Regions from separate parts of the Homo sapiens genome. Here region 2 is linked to region 1. The links are contacts of gene promoters, found by promoter capture Hi-C in blood cells and fetal thymus (Javierre and others, 2016). All regions are on one chromosome and are shown on one strand. The core of a region is centred on a gene start or on the middle of the fragment in contact, and the rest is flanking DNA. Distances in the headings are between cores, read along the strand shown. Region 1 holds the start of MRAP-AS1 (MRAP antisense RNA 1). Region 2 overlaps CFAP298-TCP10L (CFAP298-TCP10L readthrough).

Region 1 (6,416 bases), core at 3,521-6,020:
CTTGTCCCCTTCCCTACCCAAATAAACCTTACAACGCTATTCTTTGAGACTATCCTGAACTTGAAATCCCACGTTTAGATCCAAGCTGGACTCAGGCAAGCGCTGCTCCAACAAAGCGTTCTCTTCCTGGTTCCCCTTAATCTTTATCCACCTCTCCAAGGCCTATCTTTGGGGATTCCTTTGGTTATAGGCACCTCTGCTTGTTTATGCAGGGGGCATTGGCCGGAAGGACATTGGTCTGGGGAATATCCCTGAACCCCATGCCTCTGGGGGCACAGGGAGGGGCAGCGAGCAGGTGGGGTGGATTTCCACGGCTTCATCCCTGGCTCCAGGCCTAAGCTGCCTCCCAGGTTCTTAGGGCCCAGCAAGTCAATACATACTACGTCAGGTGGCGACAAATGCTCCAAAGCCGAGTTCCAGCTCAGTCAAGTGAGGACACATTTTCAGCACCTCACCTTCTTTTCTGCATCTCTGGAGCTCATCAGTCTTGCTTTTCTTTGTTCTCCCTTTTAAATCCACTGCCCTGACCTTGTTCGTGTATTTTCCAGTCACTTAGTGTGGAGGAAGGGAATCTCATCCCATGGAGAATAGATCGAACATGGTCTTCACCTGACTTAAAATATAAAATGCTAAATTAGAAATATCTTAAGTGGGGCGGGGGGCACAGTTATTTTAAAAATAAAACCTATCAACTCCCTCCTTGCCTGAAAGCTGTAGGGGACATATGGGTCTTCTGAGATTTGCTGTGTGATGCTGTCTCCTCTCCAGGGACAAGGCTGCTGGGCACTAGAGGACTAGATCTTTCAAGGGTCCCAGATCCACTGTCACATAAAGTCACATCCAGAAGACCTTTCCTGCCAGCTTCCAGGGCTCTTTGTGTTCTGTGACAGCATTTGGGCATAGATCCTGCTTACCCGGCCTGGCTGCTGACAGGCGTTGGCTGCCTGCCCTCCAGGGGAGACACTTTCTTGGGCTCTGTCTTTGAAAGGCTGTGGGGAGGTTGAAGGTGCAACTCAGGTCCCCAGACTGCAGTGAGCTGACCTGGCAGGGCAGATGCCATCACATCTGGGGGAGCCGGCGGGTGTTAGTGGAGCTTGGATGGGAACTTACCCAGCATCCTAACAAAGGTACAGAAGGACCAGGTGAACTCAGGGCTGATAACGCATTACACAGTAATGGTAAAGTGGCATAGTAAAGATTAGTAAGCAAACAGCTTTTCCTCTTGATTTGCATATATTTTATTTTCCTACTCTTCCCTGAGCAAATATAAGCAGTAAGCAAGCAGGCTAGGTGTGCTCAATAAACTCAGCAACACCTGGGATGACCTCTGCACTCGAGGGGCCACTGCAATCTTTGTCAAAGGCATAGGATGCTCCTGCTCTAGTTGCACTTGACCTAGGTGCCCTTTCTGCTACATGCAAATGGCCTCTAAGAAGAACGAGGAACGTATGTGTCCAGGTTGGCTTGATTTCACCAGTTCACTCAGCTATGGCCACGATTTACTGACATCAGCTCTGCAATTGAGAGGTCCTGTCTCCAGGGGGAGGCTCGCTGGGCTTGCTCCTGACGAGGGGACCCCCATTGAGGGTCAGTTCCCAGAGGAGAGTGGGGTGGGTCTGGAAACCCCCGAGGGGCAAGGTGGAGGAGCTCTCCTGTCGTAGCGGCTGGTCAGGGCCAGTTCTGCTCCCTGGCTCCACTGAGCTCGCCTGAGCCTGTGAGGTTGCCAGGGGTTCCCTGTGGCACGGCAGGCACTTCTGGATGCAGAGGTGGAGGTTGAGGCCGTGACTCCAGGGGCATGTTTGGTGGTGCTTGGGGCTGTTCCTGTGAACAGAGCAGAGTGGGAGGCAGGCATCATAGTTGCTGCAGAACAGTCCATACTGTGGGGCTGGGGGGTTTCCTGCCACACCTGCCATCTGCCCGGACCCCATAGGGAAGGCCACACAGGCAAATTCCTGAGAAGGGTCAGCCAGCTCACAAAGGTGGCCATTCTAGAGAAATCTCAGAGGAGAGGAAGTGCTTTGTCAGGAACTAGGCCTCAGGTCTTTCCCTGGAGGCCACTTCTTCCTACATTGATTTAGGATGGGGGGGGTGGGGGGTGGAGGGGAGCAGGTTGACCTCCCATCCAGCGCTGTATCTGAGTGTAGTTCATTTTATATCCATAGCCCAAGCCAACTTGTATCTTGGTGATATGGTTTGGCTGCGTCACGACACAAATCTCACCTTGAATTGTAATAATCCCCACGTGTCGTGGGAAGGACCCAGTGGGAGGTAATTGAATCATGGGGGCGGGTCTTCCCATGCTGTTCTCGTGATAGTAAGTCTCATGAGATCTGATGGTTTTATAAAGGGGAGTTTCCCTGCACATGCCCTTTTGCCTGTGTCATGTAAGATGTGGCTTTGCTCTTCCTTTGCCTTCTGCCATGACTGTGAAGCCTCCCCCGCCATGTGAAACTGTGAGTCCATTAAACCTCTTTCCTTTATAAATTATCCAGCCTCGGATATGTCTTTCTTAGCAGCCGAGAACAAACTAAAACACTTGGCTAGAGATGCATCCTCCCTGTGCCAAGCATGGAGGTTCACACCTGTAATCCTAGCACTTTGGGAGGCAGAGGCAGGTGGATCATGAGGTCAGGAGATCGAGACAATCCTGGCCAACATAGGGAAACCCCGTCTCTACTGAAAATACAAAAATTAGCTGGGTGTGGTGGTGGGCGCCTGTAATCCCAGCTACTCAGGAGGCTGAGGCAGGAGAATCACTTGAACCAAGGAGTCGGAAGTTGCAGCGAGCCAAGATTGCGCCACTGCACCCCAGCCTGGCAACAGAGCAAGACTCAGTCTCAAAAAAAAAAAGAAAAAAAAAAGAAATGTGTCCTCCCTGGGTGGATTCTCCTGCCCGGGAAGTGCTGGGGCAGTGGACATGGCCATCTGGAGTGAGCTCTGGCCACCACTTCCCAGCTGCCTTTAACGTCATCCATAAAATGGGACAATATTGGCTCACAGATATCCTCAGGATGAAATGAGATGATGTATAAAACGACTTAAATGTGGTTACAGCGCTGGCACAAATGAAGAGTACCAAGTGATGAACCCACTGGGCAGAGGCCATGCTTTCAGATGGCACTCGCCTAAGAATGCTCTCCCCACCTCCCTCCTCCCCTCCCCCCCCCATCATGGGAAGGTGTCAGCTCCTCAGGGAATGACTCCTAAATCTTGCTGAGGATCCACTTTGCCGCCCTGAGCATTCCAGGAATGTTACCAAGTGCCTTGAGAGCATTTTCTTTAGTAAGCCATGTAGCTGGTCAGGATGTATAGTGTCATCAGTTTGCCCCTGTGAAATAGCCCAGAAGGCCTGTGCCCCCCAGGGAGCTGGGCGTGGTGGAGGCAGCCCCTGGGCTTGCCGGACCAGACCAGGGATCTTTGCACCTTCCCTGGCATAGGGCGGCTGCAGGTCATCTCAGAAGAGTAGTAAAGAAAGGTGACATCACTCGTTTATCCCTCAGATGTGTCTTGGGTATAAAAATGTGCTTAAATTGAATGTGAGTTCTAAAAACTGAAAGAAAAGAACAGATTTCAGGCTGTGCACAGTGGCTCCTGACCTCAGTGATGCCATCTCGGCTAACTGCAACCTCTGCCTCCCAGGTTCAAGCGATTCTCTTGCCTCAGCCTCCCGAGTAGCTGGGATTACAGGCACCGGCCACGATGCCCAGCTAATTTTTGTATTTTTAATAGAGACAGGGTTTCGCCAAGCTGGCCAGGCCAGTCTCGAACTCCTGACCCCAGGTGATCCACCCACCTCGGCCTCTCAAAGTGCTAGGATTACAGGTCTGGAGTTTGAGACTGGCCTGGCCAACTTGGCAAAACCCTGTCTCTACTAAAAATACAAAAATTAGCTGTGCGTCGTGGCGGGTGCCTGTAATCCCAGCTACTCGGGAGGCTGAGGCAAGAGAATAGCTTGAACTTGGGAGGTGGAGGTTGCAGTGAGCCGAGATCACGCCACTGCACTCCAGCCTGGGTGACACAGCGAGATTCTTGTCTCAAAAACAAAAAAAAAAAAATGAATTTCTTCATTGCTCTAAAGCTACCTTCCATATGTGACCAAAGGTGAGCGGAAATGGCCTGGCGAGTGTAGCCCTGGTGGGTGAGACACCACGGGCAGGGCAGGCAGGGGCGGGGAGGAGAATCAGAGGCCCCTTCAAGGTAATGTTGGGCTGTGGTATGGTTTGTCCCCACCAAAACTCGTGGAGACCTGGTCCCCAGTGTGGCAACACTGGGAGCTGGGACCTTTAAGAGGTAATGAGTTTTTTTTTTCTCTAGACTGAATTAGATCTTTTTACAAAATGAGGCCCTCACCAGAAGCTAAGCAGATGTCGGTGCCATGCTTCCTAGACTTCTAAGCCTTCAGAACCATGAGCTAAATAAGCCTCTTTTCTTCATAAATTACTCAGCCTCAGGTATTCTGTTACAGCAACAGAAAACACTAAGACGCTGTGCCAATGCGCGAGTCCACGGCTCTTCACGGGACCTGGCATGGGACGCACTGGCTCAGGGGCTCCAAGGCCACTCAGCTCTTCCTCAGCACAGTTTGGCTCATCTCTCTGCTGACCAGCTTCCTACGCTTAGGGTTTCCAGTCCCCAAGACTTCCGTCCGTAATGGACATAATGGTCTATAATGGCACCCAGCCCTAGTCCTCCTCCTGGACCAATCAGTGCAGCCCCCATAGCCACCAGGTCCATCCCTCAGGTTCTAGATTCCAAATTCCAAAGATGAGAATCTGACCAGTCCCAGCTCTTTTGCCAGGGCACACGTTTCCAAGGGCATGGGCCAGCCACTGGACAGGCCCTCTTCGGGTGAGCGATGGCAAAATATAGGGTCCCTCCTAAGAACAGTCATTAGGAGAGCAGCAGCTGTGAGGGCTGATTAGCCTAGAAGGGAACATTGGATGTGTCAGCCAATCCTCTAGCACAACAGAATTAACATAAAACAAGGTGGGTTCCAATTACTCCTTAAAACTCCTGGATTTCACCTCCAATTTAGTGGCACACAGCAGGCATCTGAGAACAGATGCTGGCCATAGGTGCCTAAGGTAAGGATCTTTCTTTTTCTTTTTTCTTTTTTTTTTCTTTTTGGAGACAGAGTTTCTCTCTTCTTGCCCAGGCTGGAGTGCAGTGGTGCAATCTCGGTTCACTGCAACCTCTGCCTCCTGCGTTCAAGCGATTCTCCTGCTTGGCCTCACGAGTAGCTGGGATTACAGGCATACACCACCACACCTGGCTGATTTTTTAAAAATATTTTCAGTAGAGATGGGGTTTCACCATGTTGGCCAGTCTGGTCTCAAAGGCCTGATCTCAGGTGATCCGCCCACCTTGGCCTCCCAAAGTGCGGGGATTACAGGTGTGAGCCCCCACACCTGGCCAAAGGTAAGGTTCTTATGTTCCTGGTGAGCTGGCCGGCAAGACTTAATGCCCATGGTGTCAAGTTGGCTTCATTTTCTTTAACAGCTTTAGTGAGATATATTTTCATTCCATGAGGTTGACTCATTTAAAGAGTACAATTTCAGTGGTCTTCAGTACATCCATAGAGTTGTGCAACCATCACCATAATCTAATTTTAGAACTTTTTGTTTGTTTGTTGAGACAGGGTCTTGTTCTATCACCCAGGCTAGAGTGCAGTGGCGCAATCACAGCTCACTGCAGCCTTGACCTGCTGGGCTCTAGTGATCCTCCTGCCTCAGCCTCCTGAGTAGCCGGGACTACAGGTGCGCACTACCATGCCCAGCTAACTTTTTGTTATTTTTTATGGAGATAGGGTCTCGAACCCCTGGGCTCAAGCGATCCTCCTGCCTTGGCTTCCCAAGGTGCTGGGATTACAGCAGGTGTGAGCTACTGGGCCTGGCTTAATTTTAGAACTTCTTTTTTTTTTTTTTTTTTGAGACGGAGTCTCACTCTGTTGCCCAGACTGGAGTGTAGTGGCACAGTCTCGGCTCACTGCAACCTCCGCCACCTGGGTTCCAGCAATTCTCCTGCCTCAGCCTCCTGAGTAGCTGGGATTACAAGTGCGTGCCACCACGCCCGGCTAATTTTTGTATTTTTAGTAGAGACAGGGTTTCACCAAGTTGGCTAGGCTGGTAACTTGAACTCCTGACCTCAAGTGATCCACCCATCTCAGCCTCCCAAAGTGCTGGGATTACAGGCGTGAGCCACCACGCCCAGCTTAATTTTAGAACATTTTTATCATCCCCAAAAGAAACCCATCAGTAGTCATTCCCCCTTCCCCGCTCTCCCCCCAGACCTAGGCAGCTGCTAATCTGCTTTCTGTCTCTACAGAATTTGATTTGCCTACTCTGGATGTTTTGTGTGAATGGAGTCATACAACATGCAGCTCTGTGTCTGTCTTCTTTCACTTAGCATGATGTTTT
Region 2 (4,307 bases), core at 1,808-4,307, 300 kb before region 1:
AGTGGAAATGGGCTGGGGAGGGAGGAGGGAGCCGAAAGGCCGGGCTGAACAGCAGACTTAGTGCAATTAATCACGTGTGAGGGGTGAGATGAGAACTAGGTGGGCTTTTAAAAGCTGAATTTACTATTTTTAGTCGCCCAATGTAAAGCAGCGAGCCACCTGGCTTTGGGACGGCCCCTTACAGTTGAGGAAGCCTTGGTGATCTTTCCCCGCCCTGGAAACGGCCTGTTGCGTTGCGGCGCCGTCTCCCTACCCCGCGCAGGTTCCAGGGCACCCGCTTTGCCGCAGAACTTTCCGGCGGTGGAAGGGCCCCCATCTGTGCTGTCCATTGGGCAGCTGCCGGCCACTTGTGGCCGTAGAGCATTTGGAATGTGGCTAGTGCGGCCAGGCAACCGAATTTTACATTTGCATTTTAATTAATTAAATATATATAAATATAAATAAATACCATATATATAGTATATATGAATATAAATAAATTATATATATGTATATATAAATATAAATAAATTATATATATATATATATATATGGTATGTGTGTGTGTGAGAGACAGGGTCTTACTGTTGCCCAGGCTGGAGTGCAGTGGCGCGATCTCTGCTCACTGCAACCTTCGCCTCCCGGGTTCAAGCTATTCTCCTGCCTCAGCCTCCCAAGTATCTGAGATTACAGGCGCCCACCACCACGCCCAGCTAATATTTGTATCTTTAGTGGACACGGGGTTTCATCATGTTGGCCAGGCTGGTCTCGAACGCCTGACCTCAGGTGATCCGCCTGCCTCCGCCTCCCAAAGTGCTAGGATTACAAGTGTGATCCATCGCGTCTGGGTCATTTTAATTTAAATAAATTTAAATCGCCAAGTGGAGCGAGTAGCTGCCGCATTAGACAGCATAGTTTTTGAACTTGACGGGATGATACTTCCTGATGTGGTCTAGGATATTACTGTTTATATAACTATCGTGTATATATAGAATATACAAACGTAACTATTTGCAATAAATAGTATATTCATTTATGTGATTTATTAAATTGCATGAATATGTGATTTATTATGAAATGTATTGATTACATTATATGAATATGTGAGTTTTGCACCGTGGAGAAATTCCTGAGGGTCATGGTTCTTTTCATGAAACTTATGTGTAGTTTCTTAATTGAGGTTCCAACACAAACTCAATATTAAATGTTATTTTTAAGTTAAAGCATTTGAGGAGAAAAGGAATTCATCTTCTTTTCCTATAACGTTATAAATTGGAAATGTGCTGAATGCTAAGAGTCACATTAGTGAACTGAAAATTCATGTATTTATTCTGCACCAGTGCTCAGCCTTCAGAAGACAAGGATGGGGCCGGGCGTGGTGGCTCACACGGGTAATCCTGACACTTTGAGAGGCTGAGGCGGGCGGATCACTTGAGCCTAGGAGTTCTAGACTAGCCTGGGCAACATGGTGAAACCCAGTCTCTACTAAAAATACAAAACGTGGTGACACATGCCTGTTGTCCCAGCTACTCGGGAGGCTGAGGCGTGAGAATCGCTTGAACCCGGGAGGCAATGCTGCAGTGAGCTGAGATCGCTGCAGTGAGCTGAGATCGCGCCACTGCACTCCTGCCTGGGTGACAGAGGGAGACCCTGTCTCAAAGAAAAAAAAGACAAGGATGAATAAGACCAGTACCATGCCCCCGTGTCAAAGGCCCAGGCCAGGTCTGGCACATAGCAAGTGGCATATAAATGTTTGTTCCATAAAATAGTGAGCCAGATGGGCAAGACCCCTGACTCTTTGGAGCTTACATTCCAATGGGGTATGAGGTGTTATGATTGTGATACTGTCTTTCACTTATTTTTAAGAAATGGAAGAATTAGCCGAACATGGCATATTTCTCCCTCCTAATATGCAAGGACTGACCGATGATCAGATTGAAGAATTGAAATTGAAGGATGAATGGGGTGAAAAATGCGTACCCAGCGGAGGTGCAGTGTTTAAAAAGGATGATATTGGACGAAGGAATGGGCAAGGTAAGTGAGGATTTCTCTTCTATGTGCATGCTTGATACAGGCATAAGTATGAAAACAGTTCCTTTTTTTTTTTTTGAGACGGATTCTTGCTCTAGCCCAGGCTGGAGTGCAGTGGCACAATCTCAGCTCACTGCCACCTCTGTCTTCCAGGTTCAAGCGATTCTCCTGCCTCCGCCTCTTGAGTAGCTGGGACTACAGGCATGTGCCACCACACCTGACTAATTTTTGTATTTTTAGTAGAGACGGGGTTTTGCCATGTTGGCCAGGCTGGTCTCGAACTCGTGACCTCAGATGATCTGCCGGTCTCGGCCTCCCAAAGTGCTGGGATTACAGGTGTGAGAAAGCAGTTCTTTACGTTTAAAAATTGACCTCGTCATTTCTCTACAGACTTACAAAATACTGTACTCTGTAGCTCCTTTGGTAAAACTCTAATCTAGGATGAATTAGGTAGATAAAGGAAGCTTTTGTCTTGCTCTTTAATAAGTTGCAGCTTGCTTTTATATGTATTCGACGAACCAGATGAAATGACCCTTTCCCTTCTGTAGCTCAAAAATGGTTGAGTATTGGCAATTTCATGTGTTTCCACCTAATAATTGTTGGCAGGTCCTCACCGCAATGTATTCAGAGTTGTGTTTTGTTACTGTTCGCAAATGTTGGGGGATCTTTCGAGATGGACTGTGTGAAAGAGGAAAGGGAAAGCATGTCAGCACATGGACTTCCCTGATCAAGGACATGCTTCTCTCTGGGGCAGAGCACTTCAGTACACGGCAAAACACTGAGGAAATTCCTCTCCTTTCAGTGTTTGGCTGATCATGTGGAATTGATGATAATCCTTTTTGATAGCTTATTCTTTTTAACCTGCATTAAAAGCGCCATTTAAAACACTGTAATTGAACAGCCCTAAAACACTGTTAGGAGTAAAAGAACAGTATTCCTGCAAGGCCTTTAGCAGCTCAAAAATACATTTTTTTAAATATCAGGGATAGTAAGAATTCCTAGTATTTTTTCCTTTCAATGTTAACCTGAAAAATGGTTGTCTTCCACAGCTTTCTTACGTAAGAAGATGTGGTAAGATGAGGAAAAAAAATATGAGAACCAGTTAACAGTTCATTATTCATCATTAAACCAATATGTAATATGTTCTTAAATTAACCACCTTTTTTTTTTTTTTTTTTTTTTTTGAGACAGAGTCTTACTCTGTCACCCAGGTTGGAGTGCAGTGGCACAATCTCGGCTCACTGCAACCTCTGCCTCCCGGATTCCAGTGATTCTCCTGCCTCAGCCTCCAGAGTAGCTGGGATTACACATGCCTGCTACCATGCCCGGCTAATTTTTGTATTTTTCATAGAGACAGGGTTTCAGCATGTTGCCCAGGCTGGTCTCGAACTCCTGACCTCAGGTGATCCACCCATCTTGGCCTTCCGAAGTGCTGGGATTACAGGCGTGAGCCACTACGCCCAGCCTAACCACTTCTATTATAATACAATCTTGTGTTTCTAATATTTTCAATGTCTAATTAATACTGTTATTTACTAGGAATGTATGGTTTCAACTTGCCCCATTTTCCCTAGGTTTGGGCATTCCATCTTCTTCTTTTTTTTTTTTTTTTTTTTGGCTTCTAAGCTTTCAAGTTATTATTTTTTCCTGATCTAGGGGTCACCAAATTATGGGCTACAGGTCAAATTTAGCCAGCTGCCTATTGTAAATAAAATTGTAAGGAGACGCAGCTACCCCAGTTATTTAAGTATTGTCTGCTCTTGTGCTACGTGGCAGAGCTGAGTTATCCCACCCAACAAGACTGTGTGGCCTGCAAAGCCTCAAATTTTACTCTCTGGCCCTTTCCAGAAAAAGTTCACCGGCCCTGTTTACCCAACGACATGCATTTCTGTTTTTTGTAGCCTTTGCCACTTTGCGTAAAGCACACTCCAGGTCTCTGCTGTTGGGAAGAGGTCTTCACCTAACTTCCGGCAGCCAGGTTTCTTGCTTCTCTTCCCTAAATTCCACACTCGCACTCTCTCTCAGTTCATTTACCCCCTGACTCAGACAGAGGGGATTGAGGTATTTCAGAAGAGGCTTTGTATTTGACAGCTCTTTCTCCCTCTCTCCTTTTTATTTTTATAGCTCCAAATGAGAAGATGAAGCAAGTGTTAAAGAAGACTATAGAAGAAGCCAAAGCAATAATATCTAAGGTTGGCTTTTTTAAATGATGCACTAAAACTTGTTGGGTTTTTTTTTTTTTTTTTGGAGATGGAATTTTGCTTTTGTTGCCCAGGCTGGAGTGCAATGGTGCGATC

What was found. Contacts are between HindIII fragments. The CHiCAGO score rates a contact against its expected background, and 5 or more counts as called.
Region 2: a fragment that was not itself captured here is called in contact with the fragment with the promoter of MRAP-AS1 in region 1 in 1 of 17 cell types (endothelial precursors); the score reaches 5.0 in endothelial precursors.

Annotation. Positions count from the first base shown.
Region 1 is chr21:32,307,089-32,313,504 of GRCh38, reverse strand. MRAP-AS1 (MRAP antisense RNA 1) reads left to right here and starts at 4,770. Exons shown (of 2, transcript NR_187556.1): 1 at 4,770-4,986. MRAP (melanocortin 2 receptor accessory protein) reads right to left here. Exons shown (of 3, transcript NM_001379228.1): 3 at 1,215-1,821. The coding sequence ends at 1,509. It overlaps URB1 (URB1 ribosome biogenesis factor), which reads left to right. Exons shown (of 39, transcript NM_014825.3): 39 at 1-2,487. The HindIII fragment of the contact is 11,077 bases long and covers 1-6,416 here.
Region 2 is chr21:32,607,544-32,611,850 of GRCh38, reverse strand. CFAP298-TCP10L (CFAP298-TCP10L readthrough) reads left to right here. Exons shown (of 12, transcript NR_146639.2): 2 at 1,846-2,013; 3 at 4,135-4,202. CFAP298 (cilia and flagella associated protein 298) reads left to right here. Exons shown (of 7, transcript NM_021254.4): 2 at 1,846-2,013; 3 at 4,135-4,202. Among named protein-coding and RNA genes, the nearest start is that of CFAP298, 2.7 kb to the left of the region's middle. RefSeq lists an enhancer at 3-52. The HindIII fragment of the contact is 1,162 bases long and covers 2,477-3,638 here.